Linked DNA regions of Homo sapiens: all the other regions are linked to region 3. Evidence: promoter capture Hi-C in human tissues and cell types (Jung and others, 2019). All regions are on one chromosome and are shown on one strand. The core of a region is centred on a gene start or on the middle of the fragment in contact, and the rest is flanking DNA. Distances in the headings are between cores, read along the strand shown.

Region 1 (3,580 bases), core at 575-3,074, 35 kb before region 3:
TCGGTCATACTTGCGGGATCCTCTACTTCTGCCTAACCCACACGTCCTAGAACTTTCTCCCTCTCCTTAAAGCTTACCTTCTGCAGAATGGAGTCATATACACCTGTGCAGGTGGATTCTCCTCCCCTTTTCTTACAGACCCCTCCTCAAGTTGCTTGCACCAGTACCCCTGTCTTTACCAGCCAACCCATCACTGCTTCTGCAGTCACTTCTAGCATGCCAGGCAGCCTGTCTGCAGACTGGACTTCCCAGCCTGCCTGGACTGTGTTATAATTGATGTGGATAGTACTCTTCCTTCCAAGCTTTCTTCTTCAGGTCTCCCTCAAGATCCGGGGTGAGCTTCCTCCCATTGGACCAGGCCCATCCCAGTGTGGAGCGGATATCCCCTGCAAAGGCCATCATCCCCACCAGCCCACCTGCTTTTATGGTCAGCAGCCCTACTTGAACTTCTAAGCTTGCTTTTGATTCAGGAAACACTTACCAGCTGAAATCTGGGGGTCCTGATTCAGGGCCTTGCCAGAGAACCACTCCCCCCAGTGCCCTGTCTTTTCTGGCCCACCTACCACTGATTCTGCAGTCACCTCCACTCCAGTATACAACCCGTCTTCAGACTTGGTGTCTCCGCCTGACTTTGCCTCTAAGGAAATCAACATGGGTACCATGCCCATGTCCCCATCTGTTATCATCCTGTCTCTCCCTGCAATGTTAACAGCTGTTTCCCTTTGAGAAACCTGCCAGCCCCTGAAAACCCTTCACACTTAACCTCTACTGCAGCCCTAGAACCCAATGGCAGCACAACTCAGTTGGCTTTTGGGAACTAAACACTCCCGTGTCCACTTTGGCATCAATGTCAGCATTCAGGCAGCCCATGGTGGTGCCTCGGGTGTTTTACCCATTGGTGTGGACACTCTTACTCTTGCCATGAAATGCTACCAGAAAGCACAACACTGAGGACTGTTGCTCATTTCTTGCTGATGCCAATCCAAGCCAATTTGTATTTGTGGGATCTGAAGCCCTTATGGATAGCAAAAGCTTTGGGGTCATTGGGTCTACCACGCAGAGTCTACCACCACATCTAGATCGCTTAGCTTTGGAGCAAAATGGCTGGGGGACAGCCAGTACCACAGCTCATGATGGGGGAGGCTTAGACCTGAGCGCCAGGGTCCTGTCAGCCCTGATGCACTCCTGCTGCAATTGGAGAAGCCGGCACTGCTGAGAGCAAATCAAATCTGCCCTGGGAAACACTTTCCTTCCCACCTGTAGTTAGAGCACCTGGTGCCAGCCCAGCCAAAACACGCCTACTACTACTGGAAGATTTGTGATCACTGAGAAGGAGTGTTTCAGAAGACATGGCTGTTCCCCCTTTTGTTCAGATCACCTGGGACCTGTTTGGCCAGAGCACTTGTGTTCCAGTGGAAGGGACCAGCACCATACCTGTGCTGAGATCCTTCTCTTCCTGCCCCAGTCAAGCCACCTGGGGCACACCTAACTAAAGTACACCTGTTGCAGTCTAAGGGACCAGCACTGCATCTATGCTCGGATGCCTTTATGTTCCTACCTATAGCCAGAACACCTGAATCCCACCTGTCCAGGGCACGTGTGTTGCAATGGAAGGGGCCAACATCATACCTATTTTTAGAGAGTCTTCTCTTCCTGCATATGGTCTAAGTACTGGGGCCCACCTGGCCAGAGCAAACCTGCTGGAGATACCTGCACCACTGAGAAGAAATGCATGCCACGTGATATATCTGTTCATTCCTTCCATCAGACACCTAGGGCCCACCTGTGCTGTTTGAAGGGCTGGCATTTCACCTGTGATTGGAGATGCTACTGGCAGAGGACCTGGGGTACACAGTCTGGAGCACAGGTGATACACTGGGCGGAGGCAGCCCCATTCCTGGGCTCCAGGGTATTTGTATGCTCAGCATCATTGACAGCTGCTGGCGTGGTCTTGCCCAGGGCACATCTGTTACAGTCTCCCAGGAGAACACCATACATACACCTTTAGGAAGACACTTCTATTCCTGCACTCACTCACAATACCTGGGCTCTATCTAGACAAAGTAGCCCTCTGACTTGGTGTAGTGAACACCATTGAGAAAATACCTGGCTATGGGCCAGTTTTCCATTAGTCTTAGACTGGCAGGACCCCTTGCTGCCTATAGATATCCCGTTTTGTCTTGCCCATTTGCCTTAACAAGCCCCGTTCTTTCTTTTCCAGATTGCTATACAAATATGATATAACATAGCCTTGTTCTTATTCATTAATCCTCTGTGCTAAGCTTCAGCACTTTTGCTCCATCTTTCAGGGCAAATGTACCTCCAGCATGAGCATGGAAGCAGCAGTCTCGCTTAGGACACATTTGTCACCTGCCCAGGCTTCCTTTGGAGGCCAAAGTTTGGGATCACCAACTCATTCATTTTCTTCTAGTGAAAGAAACAATATCTCATCAACTTTAAGCAAAAGCTATCCAGAAGTAGCTGATAGTGGTGGGGGACCACAGTTTGCCATAAATGGACCTTGCTCCATTAGGAAGAGGCTCCACCTCTTCTAGTTATGTCAAACAAACTTAACCTGCCCTCTATCATCCTAAAGAAAGCTGGCAGCCCAACCCTTCAGGTGTTTTGTATATATGTTAAAGGGTGTGGGTTCAGATGAGACTGGTCAGAAGTCAACACACTGGCCTTGAGGCAGTCTACTGTGGAAAGAAGAAAAAGATCAGTAAGTATATCCACCACACCATACCCAGTTTCAACTTCTCAGTCTGGTAGAACCAAGCTATGGGCCAGTTTTCCTGCCATCTTACGCTGGCAGGACCCCTTGCTGCCTGTAGCTGCCTCCTTTGGTCCAGCCCATTTGCCTCAGTGGGCCCTTTTCTTTCTTTCCTAGACTGATAAACACACACACACATATATATATACACACACATATATGTTATATGTGTATATATATATACACACACATATAATGTATATGTATGTGTATATATATACATATATACATCACGTGTGTGTATATATATATATATAGAGAGAGAGAGAGAGAATGCCTTCCTTTTGTTCATTGATCCTCTCTGCTTACATGTCTTTTCTATTTTAGTCAACGGTGGAAGAAGAATTGACTTCTTTCTATAAGTGGTGCTGTGTTGAGGCAGATGTAACTTTTCAAAGTTCTATGGCTCAGCAAATAGGAGGTGGCATAGCCACACTTTACAACTGCACAGGCTGACATCTGACATCTCTGTGTTTTGATGTAAAGGATAGCAGCCATGAGGAAGGGAAGCTCAAAGGAGGAAGGGATGGGTGACCCTCCCTTGCCTTTTCCCTCTGTGCTCCTCTTCCATCACTCTGATTTGGTCGTACGCCAGACCACCCCCGATGTGTGTTAGGGAAACAAAATTAACAAATTTGGTTGAAAATAATTAAATGTCTCATTTGTGTCTTTCTCTTTCATTTAGACTTAAGAAAATCATCCCCACATATTCACACCTCGACCAAAGAGGATGGGTATGGTATAGAGGCCCTTATGTCTAGAAGAAAAAAAGGAAGAAAAAGCTCATGGCTCCTTTGTGATTATTGG
Region 2 (3,443 bases), core at 513-3,012, 46 kb after region 3:
CAAGGTGCCAGCCAGGACAAATATCTCATCTCATGGCTCAACTGGAAAGGGGTCACTTCCAAGTTCATTCACTTCATACAACCTGTCGGACTGAGGGCCTCAGTTCTTCCCCGGCTTTTGGCCTGAAGCTGCTTTCAATTCCTTCCCTCTTGGGCCTTGCAGAACGGAGAGCTTGCTTCATTAAAGCAAGCAAACCAAGAAGGCAGTTGAGTTTGCCATAAGACAGAAGTCACAATCTTTTGTAATCTCATCATGGAAGCCACCTCCCACCACCTTTGCCATATTCTTTGGGTTAGAAGCAAAGTCATAAAGTCGGGCCCACACTCAAGGGAAGAAAATGACACAAGGGCACCCAAACAGGAGGTGGAGGTTGTTGGAGGCCCTCTTAGAAGTCTGCCTAACACCAGTGGGGAGGTCCCGAGAGAAAAATATCTCAAACTACCCTCCCCCCGGGTCTGGACTCTCCTTGAGAACTATTTAAAGAGAGAATCTTTTAAGGGAATTAAGTGGCAAAGAAAAAAAGTTATAAAAATGCTAATACTCCAAAAACTTTCTGGGGAGTTCCTAATGGTTTATAAGCACTGTGCTTAGTTTCTTACGAGACTGCCTTTTAAAAATAGTAATTAATGGGCTGGGCGCGGTGGCTCGCATCTGTAATCCCAGCACTTTGGGAGGCCAAGGCGGGCGTATCACCTGAGGTCAGGAGTTGCAGACCAGCCTGGCCAATATAGTGAAACCCCATCTCTACTAAAAATCCAAAATATTAGCTGGGCGTGGTGGTGGGCACTTGTACTCCCAGCTACTCAGGAGGCTGAGGCAGCAGAATCACTTGAACTCAGGAGGCAGAGATTGCAGCAAGCCACGATCGTGCCACTGCACTCCAGCCTGGGCAACAGAGTGAGACTCCATCTCAACAAAACAAAACAAAAAATAGTAATTAATGGAAAACAGGTAATTCACCTGTAATTTATCAAAACCAAAGCTTCCTCACCCCAACCCCTACACAGGGTCAAATTCAGTGTTTTGTCCTCGGGAAAAACCTGACAGTGTTCTAGTTGTCTTTTGCTGCACCACAATCATCCCAAAGTTTCACAGCTTAGAGCGATGTGGGGGTTTTTTGGTTTGGGGTTTTTTGTTTGTGTGTTTTTTAAGACAGAGTCTCAGTCTATCACCCAGGCTGGAGTGCAGTGGTGCAATCACTGCTCACTGAAGCTTTGACCTCCCGGGTTCAAGCGATTCTCCCGCCTCAGCCTCCCTAGTAGCTAAGACCACAGGCTCATACCAACACACCTGGTTAATTTTTTAATTTTTTGTAGAGACAGGGTTTTTCCATGTTGTCCAGGCTCGTCTCAAACTCCTGGTCCCAAGCATTCATCCCATCCCAGCCTCCCAAAGTGCTGGGATTGCAGGCACGAGCCACTGCTCCAGAATCAAAGCAATGTTTATTCTGCTCACGAATCTACAACTTGGATAGGACTCACTGGGGCTCATGTCTGCTTCACTCAGCATCAGCTGGGCCACTTGAAGACAGGGGACTGGAACCTTCTGAAAGCTCTCTCACTTACAAGTCTGGCAATTGATGCTGGCTCTCAGATGGGGCTGTGACCAGGATACCTACAGGTGGCTTTTCTGTGCATCTGCTTGGGCTTCCTCACAGCATGGAGACTGGGTTCCGAGGATGAGCACCCTGAGAAAGAGAGAGCCAGGCAGAAGTTATCCCCTTTTATGACTTAGCCTTCAAAGTCACCTGGGGTCACTCCTGCCACAGTCTCAGGCCTGCTAGATTGAAGGGATGGGAACATAAATCCCATATCTCCATGAAGGAGATCAAGTCATCGAGGTCATTGTAAGGAGGGCATGTGGCATAGGATATATCCGTGCATTCACCTTTGGAAAATACAATCAGCCACAGAGAGCAAACAACCCCACCACCATCCCACCCCTGAGCTTTCACGGGTGTCAGTGACAACAAGCATCGTAGGATGAAAAGAAGTCAGCAATCATGAAAAAATAAAGCAGCAAGAAGTACAATCCTTTCCACCTCGTCTCCCATGAGAGCAGGAGGTTGGGAATGAATCCATCTCCCTGAACTAGAGAAGAGACGTGCAAGGTCACTGGGCCGAGCCTGTGGGTTTGGGTTTCTCAGCTGGCCTGTTACGATGAAGCTTGTTCTTGTCTATTGCTGCACACCAAATTACCATAAATTTAGCAGCTTTAAACAACACCCGTTTATTATCTCACAGTTTTGTAGGTCAGGAGTCCAAGCAGGCTTGGCTGGGTTCTGCTCCGGTCATTACAAGGCTGAAATCCAGGTGTCCGCCAGAAATTCTGTTAGCCAGGGCTTCTATCATCAGTTCTTCTCTGCAGGGCGCTGCTAGGGAGGTCCTGACCACCAGAGGGCACTAGAACCACAATCCCGGTCCCAGGGAACTTTGCTTGTGCTCCCGCCCCTTTCTGTCAAAATGCTGTCCGGCCACCAGCGGCAGCAGCGTCTGGGAACTTGTTTGAAAAGCAGAACCTCAGGACTTAAAACCAGACCTGCTGAATCAAAATCTGCATTTTGTCAACTCCCCCACCCAGGCAATTGGTGTGCACCCTTGAGGGCCAGGCTGTAACTCAGTGGTTCTCTACCTTGGCTGCGTGTTAGAACCACCAGAGGAAGTGTGTGTGTGTGTGTGTGTGTGTGTGTGTGTGTGTGTGTGTGTGTGTTTGAGATGGAGTCTCCCTCTGTCGCCCAGGCTGTAGTGCAATGGCGCGATCTCTGTTCACTGCAACCTCCGCCTCCCGGGTTCAAGCGATTCTCCCTCCTCAGCCTCCAGAGTAGCTGGGATTACAGGCTCCCACCATTACGCCCGGCTAATTTTTGTATTTTAGTAGAGACGGGGTTACACCATGTTGACCAGGCTGGTCTCGAACTCCTTACCCCAAGTGATCTGCCCAGCTCGGCCTCCCAAAGTGCTGGGATTACAGGTGTGAGCTACCGCGCCTGGCCCAGAGGAACTTTTAAAATCCCTGATGCAAGGGACTACCCCCAGAGATTTTGATTGCATTGGTCTGGGGTGCAGCCTGCTGCCCGGATTGTTAAAAGTTTCCCTGGGGATTTTACTGTGCAGTTAAGGTTGAGAAGGGCTGCAAGCCTGGGTCATTGCACACTGTAAGAACCTTGTGTATGAATGGAACTGTGCTATGGAACAACTCCACACCACCTGTGTGTGTAGGCATAGGAGAAACACATAAACCCTGACCCTCAAGGGTCTCCTGGAATGCAAGACCTCAGCCCTCAGGGGCCTTCAGATAAAGGTGCGGTCAGGGCAAACATGGAACACCAAGGACGTGTGATATTATTTTCCAGGTGCTTCAAAGACTCAAGTCAAACACCAACTGCTCAGATAGCAAATTCTAGTTCACCCACCCCACCCATGCTCAGTGATGGGGCTCACGGC
Region 3 (3,183 bases), core at 631-3,130:
CCTTGTCCCCCTGGCAGGGCGTGCGATGGGGGTGTGGCTCGCTTCTTCAGTGTCCCGCTGCTCAAACCTCCAGGGGAGTATACAGACGGGCGGGCTGTGGGGCTCTGACCCCATGGCAGTGTCTAGGGGTGAATGTTTATAGCTGAAGCCCCAGTGGGCGTGTTACAGGATGCTCTTTAGCTGTCCGCAGGCGGCTTATGTTAGTCAATTCAATTAGATCCCTGCGTTATCGCAAGGACAGAGGGCTTTCATATCCCGGGGTTCCTGTCTTGGTGTACCAGAAGAATCAGATCACACATGGGCTTGGAGGATGACTGCAGGGTTTTGAGTGGAAGTAGCTCTCAACAGTTGGGGGAGCCAGAAGGGAAATGGTTTTCCCCTGGAATCGGGCTGCTCCGCAGCACCGGCTCTCCTTGGACTGCCCCAGCCAAACTCCGCGTCCTTCTGGTGGGTGGCCTGCCCGCGTGCCAGCGTCTGTCATGTCTTCTTCCGCCAACATGTTCCTCTGGATGTCCAGCGGCTTGTGTGTCTGCTTGCTAGGGTCTCAGAGTATTTATAGGGACAGGATGGGGGCGGGAACAGGATGGGGGCGTGGCAGGCCAGGGTGGTCTTGGGAAACGCAACATTTGGGCAGGAAAACAAAAATGCCTGCCCTCACCTAGGTCAGTTGGCACAGGGCCAGGGGTGGAGCCCTAGCCAGGGACCACACCCTCCTGTACCCAGCACCTCCCTTTCCCCCTTCCATATCATTTAAAGGGACCCCGCCCTTCCCTCCCCAGCACTCCCCTTCCCCACCTCCTTATCAATGTCATCACCCTGGACTGACTCCAGGAATCACTGTAATGTGGGCTTAATAAGAACAGAGCTCGGCTGGCCGCGGTGGCTCACCCTGTCATCCCAGCACTTTGGGAGGCTGAGGCGGGTGGATCGCTTGAGCCCAGGAGTTCGAGACTAGCCTGGGCAAGATGGCAAAACCCCATTTCTACAAAAAATATACAAAAATTAGCCAGGTGTAGTGGCGCGCCCCTGTAGTCTCAGCTACTCTGGAGGCCGAGGTGGGAGAATCACTTGAACCTGGGAGGCAGAGGTTACAGTAAGCCGAGATAGCGCCACTGCATTCCAGTCTGAGCGACAGAGGGAGACCCTGTCTCAAAACAAAACAAAAACAAAACAAACAAAAAGCGGAGCTGACAGTCAAGGTGAATTTCACGTTTGCCTGTATTCAGTTTTAGCATTACATAAACCAAAAGAAGAATGCCATAAAGGCTACAGGCAGCTAATACAGAGAGGTGTTACTGGAAAAGGAACCAGAAAGAGTAAATATCTCCTAAACGTATGATGGGACAGAAAGATAAATGCCTATTACATATAGTTAATATCTGTTTGATTAGCCTTATTTACATTCTCCTTTTAAAAGGTCTTACATTTAGCATCTTAGATAGAACCCACAAAATTTAAATATTTAATAGAAACTTAAAATTCCTGTATCAGAGGACAGAAATATATTTTTCTCACACGTGATTAGTCTAATTGCCACTATTAATCCTATTAATATTCTGTTAAATAATAGCATTTCTGTAGCGAAAAGCAAACAGTACGGAAAGATAATTTCAAACACCTAGTTTTCATATTTTTGTGTTAAAGTAATAACATATTTTGGTATAGATTATCATTTTTTGTTTGTTTTTGTTTTTGCTTTTTCTGACCTGGTGTGTTAATGCCCTGGGTTGGCCCTCTAAGAAGCTGGCCACCTACTTCGGGCCTCAGGTGTCAGACGCCCCAGCTTCGAGGTCTATGGCTCCCAGCAACTCGAGCGCCTGCGCCTGCGCATTCTCAGCCGGACGGGAGCGCCCAGAAGTCTCCGGGCGCCGGTGGGCGGCCTTGTGGACTGCGCCGGGCATGCTCGGCGGTGTGACGGCTCAGGACTGCATTTCCCAGAGGCTGCAGCTATCCGGCCAATGTAGCCTGAAACTACATTTCTCAGCGGCCACTGGAACGACCTCAATCTCTGCCTCCTCGCCAGTTCATTGTGGTCGTTGACCCGGCAGCGAGCTTTGGAGTTCATCGAGGGAGAAGTCAGCGCCCAGCTCCGAGGTTGGAGCAGCCCCGCCGGGCAACTTGAATTTCTGCAAACGAACACAGCACCGGGAGCTCTGCAGACCTGTGTCGGCGCGGAACCCGGACTGAGACATGCGTGAGCGTTGGGTGGACCGGGCGAGGATCCCGGGCCGGCGAGTGCGGGAGCGGCAGGGCAGGGAGGGTGCGTCGGCCGGGGCCGGTGTGCATCCGCGAAGACTGGGTGCATGGCCTCCATGCGAACCTGAGCTATTAATATTTGTTACTATTTTGGATAAAATCACTGTAATTGATTTATGTAAAGGAGCAAAAGACTCTTCAACTCTCAGTTTAAAAAGGAAACGATAGTTATGATACCTTTTGCATGCAGCGGGAAGAAATGGGATTGCCAGGAAGCCTCTTCTTGTTTGGAAAAAACTGTATAAAGTATTTACACCTTTTAAAGATGAGAGCAATGTCATCTGAAAATTATCAGTGCAGGGAAAAGGACTTCAAAGGATCTGTTGTGCAGATTACTTAACTAATGACAAAATTATGTAAGAAAGGAGAGCAAGATGACAGCTGTAAACATTTCCATCAATCTCCATATTGCACAGAAATAGGACCCAGCTTTTTCTTAAGGTTCTTCAATTTTGCATTATCCCACAGCAGTAGCTCTCTCTCTCTAGCTGCTAGGGGACAGAGGAAATTGAAATGTCAGAGAATCTTTTCTGTTGGTTTTTTATTTGTTTGTTTTTAAAGAAGAGTTGCTCTTAATTTTTTAGTTAGAATTAAAAGAAAGCATGCCAGAGAAACTTACGTTTTAAGTAAAAAGTGGAAACAGGTCGGGTGCCATGGCTCATGCCTGTAATCCCAGCACTTTGGGAAGCTGAGGCGGGTGGATTGCCTGAGCTCAGGAGTTCGAGACCACCAACATGGCAACATGGTGAAACCCCGTCTCTACTAAAAATATAAAAATTAGCCAGGCATGGTGGCGTGCGCTTGTAGTCACAGCTACTTGAGAGGCGGAGGTGGGAGAAGTGCTTGAAGCTGGGAGGCGGCGGAGGTTGCAGTGAGTGGAGATGGCACCACCGCAATCCAGCCTGGGCGACAGAGCGAGATCCCTTC

Evidence for each region. The method cuts DNA at HindIII sites, captures the fragments that hold promoters and counts their contacts. A contact is called where the count stands out against the background at its distance.
Region 1: a fragment that was not itself captured here is called in contact with the fragment with the promoter of ZNF30 in region 3 in 4 of the 25 tissues and cell types used here (H1 embryonic stem cells, dorsolateral prefrontal cortex, mesendoderm cells and 1 more).
Region 2: a contact is called between a fragment that was not itself captured here and the fragment with the promoter of ZNF30 in region 3, in 3 of the 25 tissues and cell types used here (aorta, dorsolateral prefrontal cortex and stomach).

The regions. Positions count from the first base shown.
Region 1 is chr19:34,889,598-34,893,177 of GRCh38, forward strand. It overlaps LINC00904 (long intergenic non-protein coding RNA 904), which reads right to left. Exons shown (of 6, transcript NR_187844.1): 6 at 2,235-2,699. Among named protein-coding and RNA genes, the nearest start is that of LINC00904, 14 kb to the right of the region's middle. The HindIII fragment of the contact is 4,130 bases long and covers 1-3,580 here.
Region 2 is chr19:34,970,943-34,974,385 of GRCh38, forward strand. It overlaps LOC124904700 (a long non-coding RNA gene), which reads right to left and starts at 2,685. Exons shown (of 2, transcript XR_007067237.1): 1 at 2,242-2,685; 2 at 1,424-1,687. The HindIII fragment of the contact is 3,713 bases long and covers 1-3,443 here.
Region 3 is chr19:34,925,023-34,928,205 of GRCh38, forward strand. ZNF30 (zinc finger protein 30) reads left to right here and starts at 1,881. Exons shown (of 5, transcript NM_194325.3): 1 at 1,881-2,194. ZNF30-AS1 (ZNF30 antisense RNA 1) reads right to left here and starts at 1,804. Exons shown (of 3, transcript NR_110749.1): 1 at 1,707-1,804. The HindIII fragment of the contact is 21,653 bases long and covers 1-3,183 here.